Regions from separate parts of the Homo sapiens genome. Here all the other regions are linked to region 2. Evidence: promoter capture Hi-C in 16 types of primary human blood cells and fetal thymus (Javierre and others, 2016). All regions are on one chromosome and are shown on one strand. The core of a region is centred on a gene start or on the middle of the fragment in contact, and the rest is flanking DNA. Distances in the headings are between cores, read along the strand shown. Region 1 holds the start of NKX2-2 (NK2 homeobox 2). Region 2 holds the start of XRN2 (5'-3' exoribonuclease 2). Region 3 overlaps LOC112268271 (translation initiation factor IF-2). Region 4 has its middle 8.9 kb from the start of BETALINC1.

The links. Contacts are between HindIII fragments. The CHiCAGO score rates a contact against its expected background, and 5 or more counts as called.
Region 1: the fragment with the promoter of NKX2-2 here is called in contact with the fragment with the promoter of XRN2 in region 2 in 5 of 17 cell types (naive CD4 T cells, megakaryocytes, activated CD4 T cells and 2 more); the score reaches 7.0 in naive CD4 T cells.
Region 3: a fragment that was not itself captured here is called in contact with the fragment with the promoter of XRN2 in region 2 in 1 of 17 cell types (naive CD8 T cells); the score reaches 5.8 in naive CD8 T cells.
Region 4: a contact is called between a fragment that was not itself captured here and the fragment with the promoter of XRN2 in region 2, in 2 of 17 cell types (naive CD4 T cells and activated CD4 T cells). The highest score is 6.9, in naive CD4 T cells.

Annotation. Positions count from the first base shown.
Region 1 is chr20:21,512,586-21,515,677 of GRCh38, forward strand. NKX2-2 (NK2 homeobox 2) reads right to left here and starts at 1,479. Exons shown (of 2, transcript NM_002509.4): 1 at 826-1,479. The coding sequence starts at 1,084. The HindIII fragment of the contact is 7,883 bases long and covers 1-3,092 here.
Region 2 is chr20:21,301,667-21,304,580 of GRCh38, forward strand. It overlaps XRN2 (5'-3' exoribonuclease 2), which reads left to right and starts at 1,665. Exons shown (of 30, transcript NM_012255.5): 1 at 1,665-1,807. The coding sequence starts at 1,733. RefSeq lists a silencer at 1,363-1,492 and an enhancer at 2,213-2,262. The HindIII fragment of the contact is 6,284 bases long and covers 1-2,914 here.
Region 3 is chr20:21,496,279-21,499,387 of GRCh38, forward strand. LOC112268271 (translation initiation factor IF-2) reads right to left here. Exons shown (of 6, transcript NR_171654.1): 6 at 2,987-3,109. Among named protein-coding and RNA genes, the nearest start is that of NKX2-2, 16 kb to the right of the region's middle. The HindIII fragment of the contact is 5,766 bases long and covers 1-3,109 here.
Region 4 is chr20:21,537,372-21,540,723 of GRCh38, forward strand. No RefSeq gene overlaps it. Among named protein-coding and RNA genes, the nearest start is that of BETALINC1, 8.9 kb to the left of the region's middle. The HindIII fragment of the contact is 2,586 bases long and covers 639-3,224 here.

The DNA of each region.
Region 1 (3,092 bases), core at 229-2,728, 210 kb after region 2:
TCCGCGCCTGGCAGCCCAGCCCCGCTGCCTTTGCCATGACCCCTGCCTTCCTCTACGCCTGACGAAGACGTCGGGACCTCCCAGGGTAAAGAGGGAAATCCGTAGGAGTGGGGGCTAGGGGCTCGCCTTTCAAGGGGCTCACATAGTGTGGGTGAGAATTTGGGGGGGGAAGTGGCACTGAAGATCATCGCGGGTTAAGGGCTCCGGCGCCCTTAAGCGGTTTCCTCTCCGGCGAGACGTGGGCAGATTTTTAAAAGAAATACCCCACAATCCCAGCATTGATCGGCTCGGCCATTTAAGGCAGGTTTTTGGGGGCTTTCGTTTCTGCTTTCGGGCCTTCTAGACACCCCCTGCACTGCACAAAGCGTCCTCTATGATCGCGCAGGGGGCAGGGTGAGCTATTTATACCCGGGCCACCCGAAGCCTCCCCACCCTCCACCCGTACCCGGACGAGGCTCGCTGGCTACCTCCAGGGCGCCAGGCCAGTCCCTCCCAGCGGCCGGAGTCCGGGGGCTGCGGCTGGAGCCATCGGTCCGGGTTGACATCATATACCAGCCCCTGGGAGGTATAGCCCTTCTCCCTCTTTCTCCTTAACTTCTCGCATTGAAAAAAATTTTGGAGACCAAGTTCTTTCCCGGAACTAAGGAGGCTTGAAGAGGAGGGCAGAGGACATCCTATACAGGTGTTAAAAATCTTTCTACGGATCCGAGTGAGGGGGTCCGGGCTTACATGGCCCCTTCCCCTTTCACTCCCAGCGTCCAACCCGGGCTGCGGCTGCAGGAATGGAGGGGACCACGGCCTCGGCAGCCAAGTTTTGCTACTTACGGGAGTACTGAAGGCCCTCGGTGCTGGCCAGCCAGCGCGTGTACGGGTTGTCGCTGCTGTCGTAGAAGGGGTTCTTCAGGGGCAGGCTCTGCACCGCGTCCAGGGCGCCCTGCCCCAGCGGCCCGGCCCTCTTGGCTGGCTCGGGCCCCTCGTTCTCTTCCTCCGGACCTTCGGCCACAGAGCCCTCCTCATCGTTGGTGTCCGGCAGGTCTAAGATGTCCTTGACCGAAAACCCCGTCTTTGTGTTGGTCAGCGACATGGTTCGAGACCCCAAAATTTATGTCGCAAAGTTGTAGCTTCACTTGGTCAATTCGTGGCGCTCCCCTGCCCCGGCGGGCGGGGGAGGGGGGAGTTGGGGGGAGGGACTGGGGGAGGGGAGGGGGGAATTGGCTTTAATTATTGGGATAATTATTATTTTTAAAAAGAGAAAGAAACTGGGGATGGGGAGGAAAAAAATGAAGCCCAACCCAGTGCCTCTCTCTGTCTTCTTTGAAAGCACGCGGAAATGGACGCAGGAAGCCGGGCGGCCTGCGCGCCGAGCGCCGCGGGCCCCGGCCTTAGTTTCTAACTCCAGGAGGGGTGCCAAGGCGGCGTCAGCTCGGGCTCCGGCGGCCGCTCGGCGCGCGGTGGCGGCTGGTGGCGAGGAAAAAATGGGCCATTGCCCGAGCGATCAGTCCATATAAGGCTGGGCTCCACTCACGAACCTGGGGAGGCGGGGAGAGGGGGAGAAAGAGAGGGAGGGAGGGAAAGAAAGAGGGAGGGAGGGGGAGCGAGAGAGGGAGCGGGAGAAGGGTGGAAAAAAGGGGGAAGAGACATTAAAAACGCAAAGGTTGGCCACGTGTGGGCGGGTCTTGGGAGTCAAGTGGATGAAGACAGTATTTGCAGATGTGAAATTGTGGGTTTTGGGGAGCTCCGCGCTCCCAGCCAACGGCCCTCTAGAGCAAGATGAGAGGTGTAACGTGTCAATTAATTGCAAAGACGGGGCGAGCCTTTTTTTTTTTAAACCCAGTATTTACATACAAAGGGCCACCGCGTCGCTCGCGAGTCCACACACTTGAAAGGGCCGTTTTAACAAATTGCATCTTAAAAAAGGTGGGGGTGGGGAGGAGGAGGGGAGAAAACAAAACAGAAACCAGGAGGAGGGAAAAAATCCTCTTTAACATTCACCGGTTCCTACCTCCCCGCCCCCGCGCGCCCACCCCCGGCAAGCCGGAAAATTGGCGATTTGTGGCGCCTTTGGAAAAGGGGGAGGGGGCGAAGGCCGAGCTGCGGAAATCTCTCCTTTCCATCGTTGGTGGTTGCCTAAACAAGATCCGGTTCAAATGGCAAGAGCCCAACTTCTGTAAGCCTCCTAGGTCAATATTTTGGTTGAGGCTTAAGGATGAGTGCTAGAAATGACAAGGCAAGTAATTGATTCCAGTTAACCGCGAGAGAGCCCAAAACCCAGGAGAGAGCTCCGCTCCGGGCCGGCCAGAGCCACCACCAAGCGACCCGCCCCCTTCCAGCCGCCCTTTATTTGCTAAAGACTCATTTATTTCCTTCACTCCGCCTCCCCCCACCTCCCACCCCCAACCCCCCGCCTCCACCTCTCTGCGGCCAAGGAGGACGCGCAGTTCACTTTCTGCTTTGCGGGCGGTCCCGGGGAGGGCGGGGTAAGAGTGAGGAGCTCCAACTTCGTCTGGGGTCGGACCCTGGCCCTGCTGCCTCTGGGCTCTGCGGGCCTCTTTCCCCGGGTGGAGGAAAGGGCAGACGGCCCTGCTCTTTCCTGCCCTCTATTATCCCTCCCTCTCCGGCCCCCTCCCTCTCCAGCCTCTGGCTAGAGGTGGAGCAGCGGGAAGGCGGCGGGGCGGGATTGCGGGGGTGGGGGTGGGGGTTGTGTCTCCAGCCTGGGTGAAGACCCAGAAAGCTGCGGGGGAGGGGGGTCGCTGGGTGGCCCGACGATGCCTCGTTTTCTCCCCAGTTTTCTTCTCCCACGCGAGTTCTTTAGTGTGGTCTCTTTTTGGACGCCTTGGGTGCGTTCGGAGTACGCGCTCCACGTTTCCAGGTTAAGTCAGGTTAGTGTGAAGTTTCCAGCCACTCTCGGCTCTGGGAACTGAACTTTCCCGGGACTTGCACTTCCTCCTCGGCGCTGGGGTTGGAAAAGACCACGCCGCATTTGCCACCCCTTCTTCTAGTTAAAACTTTTTTGGGGGGGGGGTGCAGGGGTGTAGATTGGCTACCTGATGCTCGTTCGCCCCAGAGGAGTGTCAGGAAGGAGCTTTGTCTGG
Region 2 (2,914 bases), core at 415-2,914:
CACCTGTAATCCCAGCACTCTGGAAGGCCGAGGTGGGCAGATCACCTGAGGTTAGGAGTTCGAGACCAGCCTGGCCAACATGGTGAAACCCTGTCTCAACTAAAAACACAAAAATCAGCGGGGTGTCATGGCAGGCGCCTCTAATCCCAGCTACTCGGGAGGCTGAGGCAGGAGAATCGCTTGAACCCGGGAGGTGGAGGTTGCAGTGAGCCTGGATCTTGCCACTGCACTCCAGCCTGGATGACTGAGACTCCGTCTGAAAAAACAAAAACAAAACAATAAACCCTCCCAACCCGCCAAAATGCTGGTTAAGGATTCTAAATGGCTCAACTTGGCCAGCTGTCTATCCCTGAACTGCCTATGGTGTACATGTTCCTATAACAGCACCTCCCAGGGAAACCAGAGGGGCTGCTTCCAGGTAAAAGGAGGAATTTCACCATAGACATAATACTTTGGAATAGTTTTGGCTATCCTTAAGTAAAACACGGGATGACTATTTCTCTAATTTCCACACTAGTAGTTTAAACAAAGTAGTCATCAGACCACAGAGGAGGGGGCAATAAATACTGCCTGTGAGGTAACTCGGCGAAATACTTTCACAGAGGCCTCATGAGGTGAGCATTTAGCATCGTGTGTGATGTGTGTCAAACCAAGAGGGGATTCAGGGAGACTTCCAGGCTTGAGCAAACGGACAAATATACCTCCTCTTCCAGACCTCTCCTTTCATATGGAAAAAATTCGTTTGGGACCACCAGAAAACAAAAGATAAAAGTATCGTGTTAGAACAAGGATGGATTAAAAATGACCTTTGCTTGAACTGAAACAGAAGCTATGTGCATAAGTGACTTAACTCCTCTGTAACTTGGCTTTCTTATCATTTACACGAGGGTGCTAACAGTACCCTCACAAGGTTCAAGTGAAGATTACATAGGACAATCCCTTAGTCAATGTCTTGGTACACTGTAAAGGCTCAGTAAATGCTGGAAAATCATATTAGCAACTATTTTATACCCGTAATTGTAGCTGGAAGATTGTATTGGATGCTAAATACCGGCTAGATTCCATTCGGTAACTATCATAATTATTTATTTGCATAACAATCAAATTATTGGTGCAAAGCAGCCATTATTACTGTAAAATGCTTTAAAATGCTCCTTTTGATAGTCCAGGTACGTACTGCAGCACAAAACTAGGAGAAACCAGGAAATGGAAGTAACGAGTAAGTTTGGATGCTTCGATTCTACCCTAGATTGAGACGGGTGAGCATAGAGGCAAAAAAAGACATTTTCTTCCAAACAAGAGGTGACCAAACGGGCAAGGGAGACCTCCTCCCGGGCATGCAGAGCGCAGCGATTCTGTGCCCAGGGAGCCGGAGGGCTGGGGCTGGGAGATCCCGGCGGAGCCCCGGCAGAGCAGTCGCCCGTGAGCCCCCGCAACTCAGACGCGCTCGGCCTCGCGCTCCGGGGCTGGGACCACCGAGGGCGAGCTGCAGCCTTCGCCACCCGGTCCGCCGCCGGACTCCGCCTCCCACAAACAGCCCGGCAAGGCCCTTTTCCGCCGCTCCCTCATCCAGCGAAGCCTCCTTCCCAGCTTCCCCGGCGGCGGCGCCGTGACGTCACTTCCGTTCTCCAGCGCGCACGTGGGAGGAAGTGCTGGTGCCCTCTGCCGCTGCTCCCGTCTCTTTGGTTACGCTCGTCAGCCGGTCGGCCGCCGCCTCCAGCCGTGTGCCGCTATGGGAGTCCCGGCGTTCTTCCGCTGGCTCAGCCGCAAGTACCCGTCCATCATAGTCAACTGCGTGGAAGAGAAGGTGAGGAGGCGCCAGGCGGCCGCCACACTCGAGCCCGGGCCCCCGGCACGTCTAGGCCGCGGCCCATGGGCTCCGCCGCCTGCCCCCGGGGAGCCTTGCCGGAGCTCGCGCCCTGCTGCCAGCCTCGCGAGCAGTCGCAGCCCCACACGCGATGGGACGCGGGCTGTGGGATTCAGCACCCCGGGGGCGAGGAATTCAGGACCCTCGGCGGGGCAAGGGCCTATAGGGTTCCGAACTCGCAGGAGGGTCGCTCCTCCCCTACTCGCTTTTTCCCGGCACCGGAAGGCCCCGCCCACTGCTTTGTTTCCTCTCCAGACCGCGCATTTTGGGTCTCGGAAGAGGTTCAGAGGCTGTTGTTGAGCAATGCATGCCAGGTCAGCTGAGCTAGCGGGTTATGGATGCACGGATTCGGAGGCCAGCTTTTTGACAACCTTGTAAAGGAATCCCTGGCGGCGACCTTTTCGTTGTTTACCAATTGTGCCGGAAAGGTTTTCTCCTAGTGTTCAGGACCATTTGTTGTTCTGGTTAGATTGGACGCTGAAAGCAGTATGTCAGGTCCAGGATGAGCGCTATAGAATTCTGAGAAGTTACCCTTCTCTGTGTGCCCTGACTACTGAACGGGGTGGGTGCTTGTTGAAAATTTCAAGATTACTGGATGTACTTGAGCAGTACAATTTTTGTTGTTAGTTAATACGTAAGTAGATTTTTGGCCATTATTGAGTTTTGTTTTTATTGTTTTCGTCATTCCATGCGGATTCGATTTTGTGCTCTTAATTAGAATTTCTGGATTGGAAACGTTCAGAGGCACATCACGCGTACCTCACTCCTTAGTTTTTGAAGGCAGTGCTTGCCTGTCACTGTGAACTTATTTCTGCTTTTTTTTTTTTTTTTAACTTTCTTGGCTTCTATCCAAGGAGGAACCAAAAGCCTTGTCTTAGTGACATTCCCACTATTTCTTGTTTTTTTCAAAAAGCAACTGCTAAATTGAATACTTGTTTCCTTTGTAAAATTTTAATCGAACTTTATTGAACTTTACTTGCACGTGGGTTAAACAAAAAGCAACAGTTCTTGCTCTACCCCTTCTCATCCCATTTCTCCACCTTTAAC
Region 3 (3,109 bases), core at 288-2,787, 190 kb after region 2:
AACCTCTGTCTGCCAGGTTCAAGTGACTCTCATGGAGTAGCTGGGATTACAGGTGCGTGCCACCATGCCCAGCTAATTTTTGTATTTTTAGTAGAGACGGGGTTTCACCATGTTGGCCAGGCTGGTCTCGAACTTCTGACCTTAGGTGATCCACCCGCCTCGGCCTCCCAGAGTGCTGCGATTTACAGACGTGAGCCACTGCGCCCAGCTGGCTGGGACTTTAAACCATTACTTCACATTCAAATAATCATAATGGTAGTAATAGGAAGATAATGAGGGAGATGACTTTGTACTAAACACCCACAACAGACAGGTGCTGTACTCAGTGCTTTGCAGCCCAGTGCTTTGCCTGGACTTGTTGGGAGAATGGGCAGGGGAAGAAGTGAATCAGCACTCTGAATGCAGACATCCTTGAAATATTTTGTCAGCTTGTGAGCCTGAAGATAAGGCTGTACTGCTAATGTATCAGGAAAGACCAAGAGGGCAGCCAGTGGAGAGGGAGAAGGGGCACTGTTTTGCTTTGAGTAAGCTGGGGACCACTTCCTCGTGTTGGGGGGAAAACAATGATACGCAGTAAAAGAAGAAAAAAGGGCCAGTCTCCTTAAATTTCACCGAAATAGTGCAAACTACAATTTTTCAAGAATATAATCAATTATTGGGCGGTCCTTAGTGAGTCTGGAATTATTAAGAATAAATAACCCTTTTTTTTTTTTTTTTTTTTTTTTTTTTTTTTTTTTTTTTTTTTTTTTTGAGAGGGAGTCTTGCTCTGTCACCCAGGCTGGAATGCAGTGGCATGATCTCGGCACATTGCAACCTCCATCTCCCGGGTTCAAGCAATTCTCCTGCCTCAGCCTCCCGAGTAGCTGGGATTACAGACATGAGCCGCCACATCTGGCTAATTTTTGTATTTTTAGTAGAGACAGGGCTTCACTATGTTGGTCAGGCTGGTCTGGAACTCCTGACCTCAGGAGATCCGCCTGCCTCGGCCTCCCAAAATGCTGGGATTACAGGCATGAGACACTGTGCCTGGCCAAGTAATCCAATTTTTAAAAGATGGGTAGGTTTTAGTTAGTAATGTCCTTTATTTTCTGAAGTCTGGTATAAAAGGCAGGAATTTTTGTTCATATTAAAAAGTCATCTGGAATAGTTTCAGAATTTTATGTCTCAAATTACTGCCTTTTATTTTTGTGATTAATTGTGTTTGAAAAGATACATATTTTTAGCTATTCTTGTTATTATTGCTGGAATTATGCATGTAGAAATATACATTCAAACAATGTAGGAGGCACAAAATGGGCAGTTTAAATCGCCTCGACCTACTCCGCAGAGACTGCTTTTAATTCTGGTGGTTATTCACACTGCATTTAAATTGTTTATTTAACTCAGAAAGGACACATAGTTTTAATGCTTATTAAGAGTTTCATTGTGTACAAAATGGTATAGCATATTGTGTCAATTTTATGAAGAGGCAATGGCCCATAATACGTTTTAGACACAGACTTTATTGAAATTTTCAGCAGAAAGCTCTAAAATGTCGATATTAAATGTAAAAGTATGTTTTTAGTACATGCCACAACCATGAACAGCTTCATTCTATTACTAAACGGTCATTAAAATATTCATCCAAATTCTATTTGAATAACTTTCATGTCTTGTAAAATCTGAAGAACATTTTAAATTGATGGGGTATTAGAATGTTGAAAGAAATACATTTGCTTTTAAGACCAGCCTTATCAGAATTCGTGAAGGCTATATTGTGGCATAAATGTATATATTATAAATGTTGGGGAAACAAAAAGAAAAAATCATATAAGAGTGGATAACTTCCTGTTGAATATAATATTACCAGTTTTTTTTTTTGGGGATTTTTATTAAAGCATTCAGTATTGTCTTCTCGTACTTTTCAGCCACATAGTTGAACTCAAATCAGAACATGATCCTCCAACTTTATATTCATTAACAGTAAGGATTCAGACAAGTGTGGATTGCCTTGTTTATGTTGTGGCCTCTGCATGTGAACCCTCTGGGTTACTGCTGCAACACGGATTTTCATCCGCCTCCTCATTTGATTAATTAACCCAGCTTCGGTCATTGTTTCAGCAGCCCCTGCACAGGCAGCCTCTCCGCCCTGGCCCACCAAGTCTCCACTAGAACCTCTTTCATTTCACCCAGGGAGTCTGGGGAAGGCGCTGGACAGCGGTGTTCATAATTCCTTTGTCTAATTGCATAGGATCAGGGTGATAAAGTTTAAAAGGGTGTTTGCATCAAGAGTGGTTATTTCAATTTGCCCTGTTAAATTTTCACCTTTTGCTGATAGATAGCATGCCTAATTTTATGAAATGCCATTATGTTCACAGAAAGGAGATGGGAGTGGGGAAGGGTTAACATAAGAGCAAATGCTGCAGCACATCTCAGCCCCTCACCCAGCCTACATGTCCATTAAGACCAAAATTCTACCTCAGGGCAGAGCTGCCCTTCAATACTGTTCCTTCTGTTGTCTCACCGTGTTGTAGCCCATGGTGACCGCAGGGGCTCTGACACAGAGAGCAGTCCTCTGCCTTCCATGGCACCCTCCCAGGGGAGGGGGAAGTCCTGGCTGGTCCTTTCCTTTCCTTGACTCACCCGGGGTTGGCACAAAGGGCAGCTGGTGGGGGAGGGGCAGAGGTGCCGGAGCAAAGGGACTCTGTCACCCTTTGCAGGATAAGAGTCCTTAATCTGCAGTCCCTCATCCCCAAGGGGTAGAATTACCTCTTAATCTAATTTACTTTATAACCTAAACTCATTCTTCTGAGAAGGGTTCTATAGGAGTCTTCAGCCTGGCAAAGGGGCCTGTGGGACACAAAGTGTTAAGAACCTCTGGAAGGTGGCACCATTCTTCCCTCCAGCTGAGCAGTAATGGCCATTTCTTACTGCTCAGCCACTCTCTTTGCTTCCCCCCACCCCAATTCCAGCCAGATACATAGTAAGGAATCAATCAAGACTCACATTTTTAAAATCTCTTTATTATTTGTGGAATTTTACACAGCCTGAGGCATTTTTGATAGAGGGCATAGAGTGTGTGAAGAGATAAATCTACATTGCCACTCCCAGCCCATTCTGTAACCCCTGC
Region 4 (3,352 bases), core at 682-3,181, 240 kb after region 2:
CAGAGGGTGCTCCATTAAGCCAGCCCCAGTGTCCTTCTGGCCCATCTCATTATTTTTTGAGCACTTCTTTATGTGTTCTGGCACAACAATGTATTCTAGGCTTATCTGGTACTTTCCATGGATCCTTTCCTTTCTCTAGACTTATCTGGTACTTTCCATGGATCTCCTCTCCTCTCCTCTCCTCTCCTGTCCTCTCCCCTCCCCTCCCCTCCCCTCCCCTCCCCTCCCTTCCCCTCCCCTCCTCTTTCTCTTTCTTTCTTCTCTTTCTTTCTTTCTCTCTCTCTTTCTTTCTTTCTTTTCTTCCTTTCTCTATCTCTCTTTCTTTTTCTTTTCTCTCTTTCTTTCTTTCTTTCTTTCTTTCTTTCTTTCTCTCTCTCTCTCTCTCTCTCTCTTATTTTGTTTGAGGAAGGGTCTTACTCTGTCACCCAGGCTGGAGTACACTGGTGCAATCATAGCTCACAGCAACCTGGACCTCCTGAGCTTAAGTGACCTCCCACCCCAGCCTCCTGAGTAGCTGGGACCACAGGTACACACCACCATGCCTGGCCAAATTCACTATTTCTAATTCCCTTTTTTAATGGTGGGAAACCTGGCTCTGATTATTTATTCATTTGCTCAATCCCACATAATATAGAAAAAGCTTCAGTGTTGCAAACACATACCGTTGAGATAAACAAACATTCTAATTGAAGTTCAATATCTATTTAGTTCTTTTTGGTTTTAAACTGAGGAGAAATAGAGTACTGCATTCAAAATTACTTGGAATAGGTTTTTTTAATTAATTAAACATTTTTTTCTTTTCTCCAGTATGGATATGTTACTCATCTGAAGTAATATTAGATTCATTTGTTTCTGTTTGGTTTATCCTATTTTAATTTTCTTTTCTTTTTTTTTTGAAACAGAGTCTTGCTCTGTCGCCCAGGCTGGAGTGCAGTGGCGCAATCTCGGCTCACTGCAAGCTCCGCCTCCCAGGTTCACGCCATTCTTCTGCCTCAGCCTCCGGAGTAGCTGGGACTACAGGCACCCGTCACCACGCCCGGCTAATTTTTTGTATTTTTAGTAGAGACGGGGTTTCACCGTGTTAGCCGGGATGGTCTCGATCTCCTGACCTCGTGATCTGCCCGCCTCAGCTTCCCAAAGTGCCGGGATTACAGGCGTGAGCCACCGCGACTGGCTTAATTTTCTTTTTTATCCTTTTTTAATTACCCATTTTATTCTTTTTTTTTTTTCTTAAGAGATGGGGTCTTGCTATGTTGCTCAGGCTGTTCTCAAACTCCTGGCCTCAAGTGATCCTCCCACCTCAACCTCCCAAAGTCTAGAATTACAGGCATGAGCCACGGCACTCAGCCTTTTTTTTTCCTTACTGAGCAGGAAATATCTCAATAAGAGTTTATCTTCAGAAGTCCTTTTTGCCCCAGAAACTGAGTTTTAGATGCAGGGATCCTCTTGATCTTAAATGGCGTCCTCTAGGGAAAATGTGGTGGTTCTCAGCTGCTTCAGCGCAAGCTCTCCAAGCCCGTCTACTCAGCATGAAAATCTAGGAGGGGTGAGCTGAAGAACTGTCCTCATCTCCAGCAAAGTCCTTATAGTGGAAGGACGCATCCTTGAATGGATGACATCTCCTTACCAAACACAGTGCCCCAGTGCATATACATGGATGTAGCATCAAAGTACAGACAGCAAGCAAAAAACACGAAGAGAAATGTGCACAACACAAGTCTGCCAAATCTCTCTCAATCATACAGGTTAAGGGGAACAAAAAAATAAGTATCCTGGATTGGAATATGGATTGAAAAAATATTGCTTTGGAGGAGAATATTGGGAAAACTGGTGAAATGTGAATAAAGATAATATTAAATATATTTGATATTATATAATGGCATTGTATCAGTATTCAATTTCCTGAATTAAATATTTGCTCTTTGGTTTACAGAGATGGTTCTTGTTCTTAGGAGACACATGGTAGAGAATCTGGGGGTGAAGGGTCATTATATCTGCAACTTACTCTCAAATGGTTCACACACACACACAGACATATACACATCCACACACATCTACATATACACATACACACATTCACATACATATATATACACACAATCCACATATCCACACATAGACATCCACACACGTGCACATCCACATACACATATTCACATCCACACACACACACACCTCCACATATACACCTCTACATATACACACATCCACATATACACATATACACATTCACATACATCTACATATATGCATACACACATTCACATACATATACACATACGTGCACACAGCACATATCCACATCCACACGTGTACACATCCACATATTCACATACATACATACACACATCCATCCACACACATCCACATACATGCATTCACATACATATATGTATGCAGGCATCCACATGTGTACATATACACACCCATACATTCACATCCATATACATCCACATATACTCATCTGCATATACACATGTACACAATACACATATCCATACATACACATTCACATACATACATGCGCACATACATGTATACACATACACACCTGTACACACATACAAATGGCAAAGTGTGAGTAGCTGGTGAAGCATATATGGCGGTTCATTGACATTATTCTTATAATTTTCCTGTAGTTTTGAATTTCTTCAAAATAAAAAGTAAAAATATTGATAAGTAATAAGACAGATCAATTTTACATATGACAGACCAGCCACATCATGCATCTATGTTGAAATCTCTACACTTTTATTCAGACACCCATGTCAGAGTCACAAAAAAGGGACCACATTTTAAGCTACAACAAAACTTCCATAAATTTCAGAAAGAAAGTAAACAGTTTCATTATTAAACAAGAAATAATGAAAATAAAGGGTATTCTATTCAAGAAGTTAAGAAAACGATCAACAAAACATCTAAATAAAGCAGAAGGGTGGGATTAAAGTAGATAAAAAATCAGAAATAAGTGTATTTGTAAACAGAAAAACAATCATGCTAAAGAAAAAACCCAAGCACTGGTTCTTTGAAATAATCAGTGATGTAGATAAACTATCAGTGGTTTAATTTAAAAACACATTGTTATGGAGAGTTGTGCAAAACCCACTCATGTAGTTCAATCTATTAATAAAGCAATGAAGAAAAATTATACTGGAATCTCAAGAGTTGCTCAAAGTCACTTAATAAATTGTAATGCTCGATATGCGGGGGGCCCTTCAGGCCTAAGCTTCATTAGCTGTATGCAAAATCCACCGAACTTTGCCTCTGGATCCCAGGGTCCTGCGGGGACAATTCAAGTGTCTGCCTAGCATAGAGTTATGCTTGCCTTAGCCGAGGGATGTGCAGGAGAGAG